Regions from separate parts of the Homo sapiens genome. Here all the other regions are linked to region 2. Evidence: promoter capture Hi-C in 16 types of primary human blood cells and fetal thymus (Javierre and others, 2016). All regions are on one chromosome and are shown on one strand. The core of a region is centred on a gene start or on the middle of the fragment in contact, and the rest is flanking DNA. Distances in the headings are between cores, read along the strand shown.

The links. Contacts are between HindIII fragments. The CHiCAGO score rates a contact against its expected background, and 5 or more counts as called.
Region 1: a fragment that was not itself captured here is called in contact with the fragment with the promoter of G0S2 in region 2 in 1 of 17 cell types (monocytes); the score reaches 7.0 in monocytes.
Region 3: a fragment that was not itself captured here is called in contact with the fragment with the promoter of G0S2 in region 2 in 1 of 17 cell types (monocytes); the score reaches 8.2 in monocytes.

The regions. Positions count from the first base shown.
Region 1 is chr1:209,395,366-209,398,871 of GRCh38, reverse strand. No RefSeq gene overlaps it. Among named protein-coding and RNA genes, the nearest start is that of LINC01698, 25 kb to the right of the region's middle. RefSeq lists an enhancer at 1,299-2,181. The HindIII fragment of the contact is 5,635 bases long and covers 1-3,506 here.
Region 2 is chr1:209,674,087-209,677,279 of GRCh38, reverse strand. It overlaps G0S2 (G0/G1 switch 2), which reads right to left and starts at 1,868. Exons shown (of 2, transcript NM_015714.4): 1 at 1,731-1,868; 2 at 890-1,627. The coding sequence starts at 1,595. The coding sequence ends at 1,284. All of the region lies in intron 1 of HSD11B1-AS1 (HSD11B1 antisense RNA 1), which reads left to right. RefSeq lists an enhancer at 908-1,756. The HindIII fragment of the contact is 4,554 bases long and covers 1-2,305 here.
Region 3 is chr1:209,413,063-209,416,587 of GRCh38, reverse strand. No RefSeq gene overlaps it. Among named protein-coding and RNA genes, the nearest start is that of MIR205HG, 14 kb to the left of the region's middle. The HindIII fragment of the contact is 1,346 bases long and covers 621-1,966 here.

The sequences.
Region 1 (3,506 bases), core at 1,002-3,501, 280 kb after region 2:
AGAGATTACATGCTTTTGTTATGTAAGAATTTGTAAGATTTACCAGGGTTTCTGGTAAATGCTGACACATGTTTGTTTGGCCCCAGGCTCTGTGAAAGCGCTAAGCTGCTTCCTGTCTGATGTTGCTGTCCTTTTTTGGCAAGGGAGCAAGACATAGTCAAGTCCTGCAGGGCTGGGGCAGGGCGGAGGCAGGTGAGTGCAGGGGAGGGTACCAGCACCCCACTCTCTTCACCCCATTTCCTTAGGTCATATCTGCACTTAGAAACTCTTTGAAAGCAAGTTGAAGTCTCTTGATTGCATGGTGAGTCAAAACTCTGAGGGTAGACCGTTGTGGGCATTCTCCTCTCTTTTCATTGCCACCCCCACACCCAAGATCACAGGACGGAGCTCAGATACAGGGTGCTGAATTATTGCCACTGAGTAACTGCAACATCTGCCACATGTGCCAGACACTCCATAGGGCAAGTTTGTCACTATAAACTTATTTAACCTCTGCTGGAACACTGTGAGGGAAGTATTGTTATCCCCAGGTTATAGACAGCAAAACTGAGACTCAGGGAAGTTGAGTGGCAATGTCCAGCTAGTAAGCATCTGGACTGCATAATCATCCCAGTCTCCTGACTTTCTGTTAGGGACTCATTCCACAACTGAGAATGTGATCTATTTGGGCTGGGGCAAAACAGCAGGACACTGACTGGAAGGGAAAAACAGCGGGACACTGACTGGGAGAGTGTCCCGCAAAACAGCAGGACACTCTCCTTGGAATGGACCCATGAGGCAGGAGGAGATGCATTGGTGCAAAGGTGTGAGGGTTTAGAGGTCTCTAGATAGGATGTGGAGGTGAGGAAAGGCCTGAGCTGACTCTGTGGTGCAAAGAGGTGGCAGCCAGGCCTGCTGGGTGCCGAGACTGCCTCATTCCATTCTGGGAGACTAAGTAGAGAAGCCTGGAGGCTTCTTCCCTTCCATTTGGAGTTTGGAGAAAACTCAGAGTAAACAGGCACATAAAACCCACCTGAACTTGTCATTATAAGCCCATAAAAGATTAAGAAACAGTTGAAGGATGGGGAAGAGAGAAATCAAGGGATTCTTGGTGTAGTCAGCTTGTTTACCACCGGCTCCTTATTTATTAGTGTCGTGTCTTCCATTTGTCAGGCTATAACGATAGTAGCTTTTATGAGTAAGCAATTTTTTAATGAACTTGTTTCAAATGCGTATTCCATTCTTGGAACTCTCTGTGCTCTGAAGCAGCTTTATAATTATTGCCTTCGGTGGAATAGCCAGGCTCTATCTGGCTTTTATGTAAGCAATTTCACTCGGTTTGCCTCTTCCTCTTTCAGCTTCAAATGAGTCAGATGAAGGGGTGGAAATATACAATAATAATAGCTTTTTAAAAGAGTGCTTATTATATGTTAGGCATTGTCCTAGATGTTATGCATTTATCTTTTTATTTTATCCTGACATTCCCCAGGACTGATGTATTTTACAGCCCCCATTTTACAGATGAGGAAACTGTGGCTCAGAGAAGTTGAATAGTGTCTAAAGTTCCTCAGTTAGTGAGTGGTGGGGACAGGATCTGAACACAGGTCTGTCTGGCCACACAGCCTGTACTCTGATACCTCTGCTGTATAGAGTGGACTGGAAGGGCTGTTCGTGCCAGTGTATTCCAGGTCAAACTGGGAGTGGGAAGAGGAGCTCAGGACACTCATTAGTGGTGTGAAGTCATTTGCCATGTTGGCCCATGCAAGAGATGCTGTAATTAAGTGCTGATGGCTCAGTAATTATAGATAATTTTCTGGTCTTTTGCTTTCATAAAGAGAAATAGGAAAGTTTAGAGAGCTCCCTAAACTTGTTGCTGCCCACAGTAATGCTACCTCCTGTCTCAGCCAGTGACTGTGCCATTTATCCAAAAGCTCAAAATTGTTTCATATGGTAAATTGGCCTCATCTTTGCGACATGGACTGTTACCATCCTATTCAAAACCCTGATTCCTTCCCAACTGGATTGAGGCTGCTTCTGAGTCCCTGCTTCCAGGACTGTCCCCTTTCTCTCCATCCTGCATGCTGTTCACAAGTACACAGGGCCAACATGCTCTTCTATCAGACCCATCTGCTACTGGAGCAATGCAGGCCACAGAGTGGCTGAGACCAGCTCTGGAGTCAGTTGCAAGCTCAGATTTCCACTTCTGTACTTGCTCACTGTATGACTTTGGGCCAGTTATGTAACCTCTTTGAGCCTCAGTTTCTTCATCAGTAAAATGGGAATAATAATTAGAAGAATGTCTATTAGATAGGGTTATTGTGAGGGTTAAATAAAATGGTGCATGTAAAAATGATTGGCTCAATAAATTCTAGCTATTGTTATTCTCTCAGCTCCTATCTGAACTCTTCAGTTAAGAATTGGGAGCCACTATCAACTGGCTCCTAGTACCTCGCCTAATTGTAACTGATATTCAGGGTGTACCAATAGTTAGGCTGTCTTGAGGACTCTGTCTCTTCATGCATTGCCATTTGCAATATCTTCTTATGGAGTAAGCGTGTAAATTAGCAAAGTTTGTTTTGGAGAAGGCTCCTCTATCTCCCATTCCTCATTTATTTTCCTTGGTGCACTGGCTCTCTTCTTGCACTGGTTGCCCTCCTGCTGACCCCTGGCCCCTCAAAGTTCCCCAAGGAACACCCAGGCACCCAGGCCCTTACCTCTTAATTAAGACAGAGCCAGGTCCTATACAGAGATGGGGATGTTTGCTTGGTTTTGACCCAGGAGTGGGTTTGTTTTTCTCTAATTAGTTGGAAAATCGAACTTGATCTGTGAAGAAGGCAGATTTACAACTTGAGTGGGTATATGACTGCCTGAGCTTTGTTGTAATAAAAGGTAAAATCACTCCTGTGGGGGATTGGGTGGGCATCGAGCTGGTTTCTAATGGCTGTTCTCATTTTCAGGTCCTGAGTGAAACCATCCAGAATGATCAAATAGTCCCTCCTAGTGAATAAGTTTGGGGAGCTGGAGAGGAAGATGATTGAAGTGTTTGCTTTTTCTTTCCTTTCACTGAGACATGATGATATTCCTCTATACACAGAAACTTGAACTATTTTGGCTAATTTTCAATGAAAGGTCACGTAGATGACATATCCTCAGGACAGATGGCTGCCAGTGTGGCCTCCACCCCACCCATGGGGAAAGATTATTTCTCTCCACCTTGTTTTCCAGCTTTCCTTTTGCTGCTGTTGATTTACTTTTGTTCTGTTTTGCTGCGCCATTCTCTCTGCTTCCCTTCTGCTCTCTGTGTCTTGCTACCTACTTATATATTTTCCTGTGTCTTTTCCTCACTCTTTCTTCCTCTCTTTCTCTTCCCTCCACATCCTCTTTGCCACTGCATCTCTTTCTTGCCTTATTTGCCTCCCTTCCCCTCGGGATCTTATTTTTGGCACTCCTCTACTTCCTTCTCTCCCTCTGATTCTGGTTCATAATAGCTTGAAAGAGCGTTTGATAACGTTTGCCTGACCCTGCCT
Region 2 (3,193 bases), core at 619-3,118:
CATTGGACGAAGGAGAGAGTCTGAGCAGAGGCAATGGTGTGAGCCAGTGATATGTTTGGCAAAAATGCATAGCTGTTGATGAAAGGAGTAAAGTGTCAGTACCTGATTAGGACAGGTGACATGAAAAATGTGAGGAGACTAGCATCAAGGCCATGCCTCTGGCTCCTGGCTACTTCTTTAAAGTTTAAAATTTGTTTTGCTGAGCCCTATAGAGTCACTGAATTAGCTATTACTACAGATGAAGCTCTGTACACTGGAGGAGGAGGACTCAGATATGTAACAACCGGTTTTTTTCTCTTTCTAGCCCAGAGTTTCTTACTATGATCTGGATTCGTGGGGAGGAAGGCTGGGTAGAGCTAGACTCATCATCTGCTTTGGTGTTCTTGGGAGCTTATCTCTTTTCCTGCCAGGTAGATAGTTTTTCCTTTCTTTCCTTCCCTTCACCTCCAGACCTCCCTCCTTCATTTTCTTTCCTTCTCTCTGTCTGTCTGTCTAAAATATAGTTGGGAAGAAAAAGGTATCAGCCATGGGAACCTCTGGTGCACAGGTGTAAGGAACAAAGAGCTTTTCTGCCTTAGAATTAATCAGTTATCTCCTACTCACTGTAGCTCAGAAGTTGATCTACCTTTTGATGTTAAAATGCTAAATCTCACGGAAGTTATAAAATTTTCTCTCTTCCCACCCCTAACAAGAAGGAAAAACAAGTCCTCAACAGACTTATATGCATGTAGTAACTTATTACACAGTTCCTAGGTGTGAAGCAAGTGTCTGACCCTCAGGAAGCTGCTCCCTCTGCAGTGCTCAGGTAAGAACCCATCACCATCGCCCACCTGCTCACCCTCCCTGCTTCCCACCCCAGGACACCACACCTCTCAGGAATTACATGAGATATGGTATAAAAAGTTTTTTTATTTCAAAATGCAAAATGGTGGTCATTGTAATAATTAATAATAATAACATAAAAAGCATTTATCCTTCCTCCCTAGTGCAAAATGGTAGACGCATTTAGATAATTCACACAGTGTTGGAAATGTCATGACAATGCAGTGCTGCACAGCAGCAAAACTCAATCCCAAACTCCTTTGGTGGATGCTTGTGGTAGGTCAGTTCTAGATGTCAGCGGTTTCTCTGAAGTTAAGTCCAAATAAAAAACAGCACGTGCTCCTGCACTCTCCCAGCGGAGTCAGGCTCCTGTGCGCGCGCCCCCTCTGTCTCTCCATTCCTCTCTCGGTCTGTCTCTGTCTACTGCGTCTCCCTCCCACTCCGCTGGTCTCCCACAGTTCCTAGGAGGCGTGCTGCCGGTTGGACAGGGCCCGGCCGCCGAGGACCGTGTCCTGCTGCTTGCCTTTCTCCTGCAGGGCTTGCTTCTGGAGAGCCTGTCGCTCCAGGGCGGCCTGCAGCTCCGCCACGGCTGCCTCCTGGTCCCGCAGACGTCTGGCGGCCGTGAAGGGGCTGCACACAGTCTCCATCAGGCCGAGCACCACGCCGAAGAGGGCCAGCACGCTGCCCAGCACGTACAGCTTCACCATCTTCCCCTTGCGCTTCTGGGCCATCATCTCCTTGGCCAGGGGGATCAGCTCCTGGACCGTTTCCATCTCGGCTCTGGGCTCTCGGAGGCGGGAATGACCTGCAGGAGGAGCAGCAGGAGAGGGGCTTCAGCCACCAAAGAACGGCTCCCACCACCCCGCACCCAGCTAATCTTGGGGAGGGCTCATAGAAAGGCGGACTACCTTAGTGGCACGGCGCGAGCAGGAGGCAGCGCGAGCTGCAGTTGGCAGCGGTCAGCGCGTCCGTTGGTCCGACCGACCTCAGCGTTCTCCTCCTCTCGGCAGCTGCAGCTCTCCCAGTTGGAGACTCCGCCGCTGGCACCGCTTTAGCGTCCGGGGGCCGCTTATATCTTTTCTCTGAGACACGCCTCCTGGGCTCTCCGGCCCAGGCCAGCGCGGTCAGAGCCAGGGGAACTCGGAGGGGGAGGAAGAAGAGGAGGGGAAAAGGAGGGGGTGGAACCCGGCTGGGACCTGGCAGGAGGTGGCCACGCGCTGAGCACGCTCCGACTGTGTGAGCTAGGGGGCCCGGCGCGGGTGCCATCGCAGCGGGGCGCGTGGGAAGGCCAGTGTGCACGCGAAGGTCCCACTCCAGGCGAGCGCAGGGGAGGACCCGGAGCCCAGGGAGGTGTCCGCGGACATCTCTGACATGGCGGCAACCTTCTTACTGGTGTCAGCGGGTGCACAGCTTCCCTTGTCCAGGACAGCCTGACATTATAAATAATGAGGGAATTTGGGGGTTCCATCTAAAGAAGAAAGCTTTCATTTTTATTCGGAAGGGTTGTCACCTTCCCACGTGTGTGGCAATGGATCAGAGAGGAGAAGGCAAGGGGGAAGGATCTGGGTAACAGGACAGAACAGGTTACGCTTGGATAAAGCAATATGTGCTAATATTGTTTCTTTCCTGCCTGGTTGGTTTTATTTAGAGGTACATGCATGTATAACTAGAGTCAGTTGATAGAAAACTATTCATTGATGGTGCTTTTATGCACAGAGGTGTGTGTGTGTGTGTGTGTGTGTGTGTGAGAGAGAGAGAGAGAGAGAGAGAGAGAGAGAAAGAGAGAGAGATTAGTCTCTTTGCCTGCGAGCTGTTTCCTTATGTACTTCCGTGTATCAGGGAAGAGCCTTCAAATTCAAATTGTTCTCACTTCCACTTGAGAAGTGGAGTTGGGAGCTTGGGGGTAGGGGGTCAAGTATGGAAGGGGCTGTTGGTAGAAGTTCATCTGCCATTTTAGAATGGAAGTATTTCATGCTCTCCTCAATAATTCTCTGCCACCCTCCTGGGTTTGGGGGTACAACTTCACTGCTCCAGCTCAACTTCAGCTTTGAAGCAGTTTGTGGGCAGAAGGGCGTGTAGTAGACAGCTTAGGTAAGAATCCAGAGTGTGAGTACTCTTGGACGTGTGAAGATGTAGGATTGATTTTGACCAGGGTTAGCTGTAATCACCTGGGGCTGAGGGAGCGTTCTAGTTTGGCTTTGGTTATGGATATGCTAGAGTTAGCAAACTTGGGGAAAAAGAGAGGCAAATTGGCCAAAGGGTTAGCAAACTTGGGGAAAAGGAGAGGCAAATTGGCCAAAGGCCTTTAAGCAGAGAAAGGGAGGGGGCAGGGGAAAGAAGGGGAAATCAAACTGGCCAGAAAATTGCAAAG
Region 3 (3,525 bases), core at 44-2,543, 260 kb after region 2:
TCCACTAATTGTTTCACATATATTAGTAACCTTTTCACAGTCTATCCAGATTGTAGAGTCCTTGGGTCAGGGGACCATGTCTTCTGTTTTCCTTAAATTGCTCTTGGCCCAATCTTGCTGGCCTCACAATCAGACTGCCTGATCTTTCATGGTCACAGGCTTTGTACTAGATATCCCCTTCACTGGGATTTTCCCCTGCCTCCACACACTTCCCCCAGCTCCTGCTTTGCTCCTGCTGGTGACAAATCCTCCTGTACAGCTGGGGCCCTGCAGCTGCCCCAGCATGCCGGCTGCAAATCAGCTTGAAGTAAACTGTCTGGAAGTACCCTGATGAGTCAATTGGGCCCCTCCTTGGAGACAAGGAATTCTGAGGTCTTGCAAGCACACACCTGCCCTCTGTGGAATAATTCCACAGCTGGCCCCAGTCCTGCCTCTGGGAACGTGTCTTACTTTTGCCTTGCTTCAGTAAGCTTATTCCCTCCTCCACTGGCTGCCCTGACTTGTCAGGTGGGGATGGCAGGGCAGTTGTGAAGAGCCAGCCCTCAGTAGGGAGAGGCAGGGCATCCACCTGCTGAGGACTGAGGTGTTGCTGGATTCTGGTGGGTTTACTTTGGTAAGCTTAAGGGAAAGAGGAGAAACCACGGAATTATGACATTTGAAATTTTCCCCCACAGAGAGCAAGAGTAGAGTGGGGAAAAGAGCCCAGGATTCTGATTTGGCTTGGCCACCAATTGGCTGTGTCACCTCATGTGACTCACCTGCCTTCTCTTATTCTTAAGCTCCTCTTCTGTAAAATGAGGCTGTTATATTAAAGTGGTAGCTTTCAAACTTATAAAAATAAAGGAACCCATTTATCAAATGAAATTTTATAAGGAATTCCATTTTCTAGAAAGAGAAAACAGCAATTCTGCTTAAAGTAAAGGTACAGGGGGACCCTTGGTTTCCTCCTTGTCTTTCAAGTGATCTCCTGAAATACCTTATCAGAACTTCCCAGGAAAACACAGTGTGAAAGGCACTGAGAAAGATGATCTCTATGGTCTCTCTAGCTTTGACAGTCTCCATCTTCTTGCTACTCAAAGTGTGGTCCTCAGCCAGCAGCAAGCATTTGGGAGCTTGTTAGGGATGCATCATATCAGACCCTACCTAAGACCCACTGAATCAGAATCAGCCTTTTCACAAGATCCCCAGGCAATTCATCCAAGTTTGAGAAGTACTGGTCTGTACAGTTCTGTGATCCAGAGAGCTAAGTGACAAGAAGACCACGGGAGCATCGTGACTTTCATCGTAGAATGTGGGCATGGTCAGTTGGTGTAGGAAGTGTGGACCACATCTCTTTCTTGCCTCGGTGCACTAGTTGTATCCCTGATGGGGAACCAGTCATGGTAAACAGGTTGGATTGTTCTTGGGCTTAGCCAGAGAGGGAAAAAGAGGGGAAATCACCTGACCCTGCAGAATGCATGTTAGTAAATGCTGGTGACACAGCATGTGACAGGGGGATTTGTGTTTCCAGCAGGAAAATGCTCACTACAGGTGCCTTATTAGCATGACTCTTCTAGGCATTTGTGCTTCCTAACGTATGTCTCCTCCCTCATCTCGCCGGATCCCTATTCTCTCTTCAGCACCTGGGATATGACAGCTGGCTTGGACTTAAAGACCTATATTTTGGTCCTAGCTCTGGAGGTTTCTAACATTGCTCTCTTGGGTTTCTCCACCTCTGCGGGCCTCAGTTTTTCTATGTGTAACACAGCATGGTAAACCCCACAGTGTGGTGGTGAGGAGGAACTGAAATATATGGAAGCTCTTTGTAAACTGTAAAGTGATAAAAACTCAAGGATACTTTTATATCAATTCTAATCTGTAAAAATACCCAGAGTTTAGCTTCAGCTGGGCTTACTAACAGTGCTAACCCCAAGATCTCAAATGCCCCTGTGAGGCTAACAGCTGGTTTCTTGTGTTAGCCTAAGCTTGTCCCCGGGGTCTGGATTCCTTCAAGGTTGGTGGCCCAGTTGGTGGTTCTTAAAGATCCCTCATCAGAACTTGATTATTGTAGGAAATTGGAAGGAAAGGGGAAAAGAAAAGAAGAATAGTTTTGCTGCTGTTTTGTCTCTGTACTTAGAAAATGCTAGCACACCCTTCCTAGTTTGACTTTTCTATTTGGCCAGAAGTTGGAATGAAATGGGTCTTGAGTCAACTGTGAAGATGAGCTTGCTATTTTTCTCTTTCATTAGTTAATGTTCTAAGTGGCCATTTCTGGGAAAACTCTTTCTGGTAATCTAAAAGTGTGTTTGTGCTGTGGGTGGAGATGTTTTGGGAAAATGTGTACATTTCTGATGCTTTTCTCTTGATAGAAGAATTTGAGTGTCATTGAAGAATAAGACCTTTAGGGTTCTGATTTCTCATTTCTTCTGTCCTTTTTGAAAACCTGAAATATTCCTCAGCCAAGAACAAATAAATTTTAGCCCCAAAATGTGGGCTTGATTTGCCATCTAAATGTCTGGGATTGAAGTAGGTTCATGTACTTGACAGGCAGCCTCAGCCCCACCCTGTTTGGTTGCACACTGTAACACCCCACCCGTTTTCCTTCTCTTTGCTCAGCCCAGCCCCTGCTATTTTATTCTACCTCCCTTGTTAATAACCTTTTTAAAGAAAGTACCTGCAGAGGATCTATGCCCTTGGAAAAAAATGTTCCCTTGAGGAACTCAGTGCTGGACTCAGGGAGAAGCACTTTGCTTATGGTGATGCTGCCACATGGACTCTCCATGTGGACTGAGACAGATCTAAAAAGCGTTAGGAAGGCCGGGCGCAGTGGCTCATGCCTGTAATCCCAGCACTTTGGGAGGCTGAGGCGGGGGGATCACTTCAGGTCAGGAGTTTGAGACCAGCCTGGCCAACATGGTGAAACCCCGTCTCTACTAAAAACACAAAAATTAGCCAGGCATGGTAGCTGCTGCCTGTAATCCTGGCTACTTGGGAGGCTGAGGCTGGAGAATCGCTTGAACCTGGAAGGCAGAGGTTGCAGTGAGCTGAGATCATGCCATTGCACTCCAGCCTGGGCAACAAGAGCGGAACTCTGTCTCAAAAAAAAAAAAAAAGAAAAAAAAAGTGTTAGGAAGGTATGAATGCTGTTGGAGTAGAACAGGTCAACTTCCCTTGAAAAATAATTTTTAGAAGCATTGAATCTGCTGCTAAATTTCACCCTGTGAAATCATCCTGGGAAAGGTTTGGCAATGCGATTCAGGTGAGTCTAGGGAGCTTTTCTTTTTAAGCCTTCTTTACCATGTGCTGGGCAAAGGTCCCTCTTTGAAAGGTCATGCCATCGTTGGCCAGGCCTGGCAGGGTGGAAAGGGTGGCTCTGTGCAACTGGATCTGCACAGGGCTCCGTCTGCCTGCTACTGGAAGATACTGGCTCTCTGGGCCAAGCAAAGCTGCCTTTAGTAAATTAATGAGATTTTCCCACTAATTCAGCATCTTTCTTAGGAATCCATACTAGTGATCAATTCCAAGTACTGTGGGATTTTCATTTGC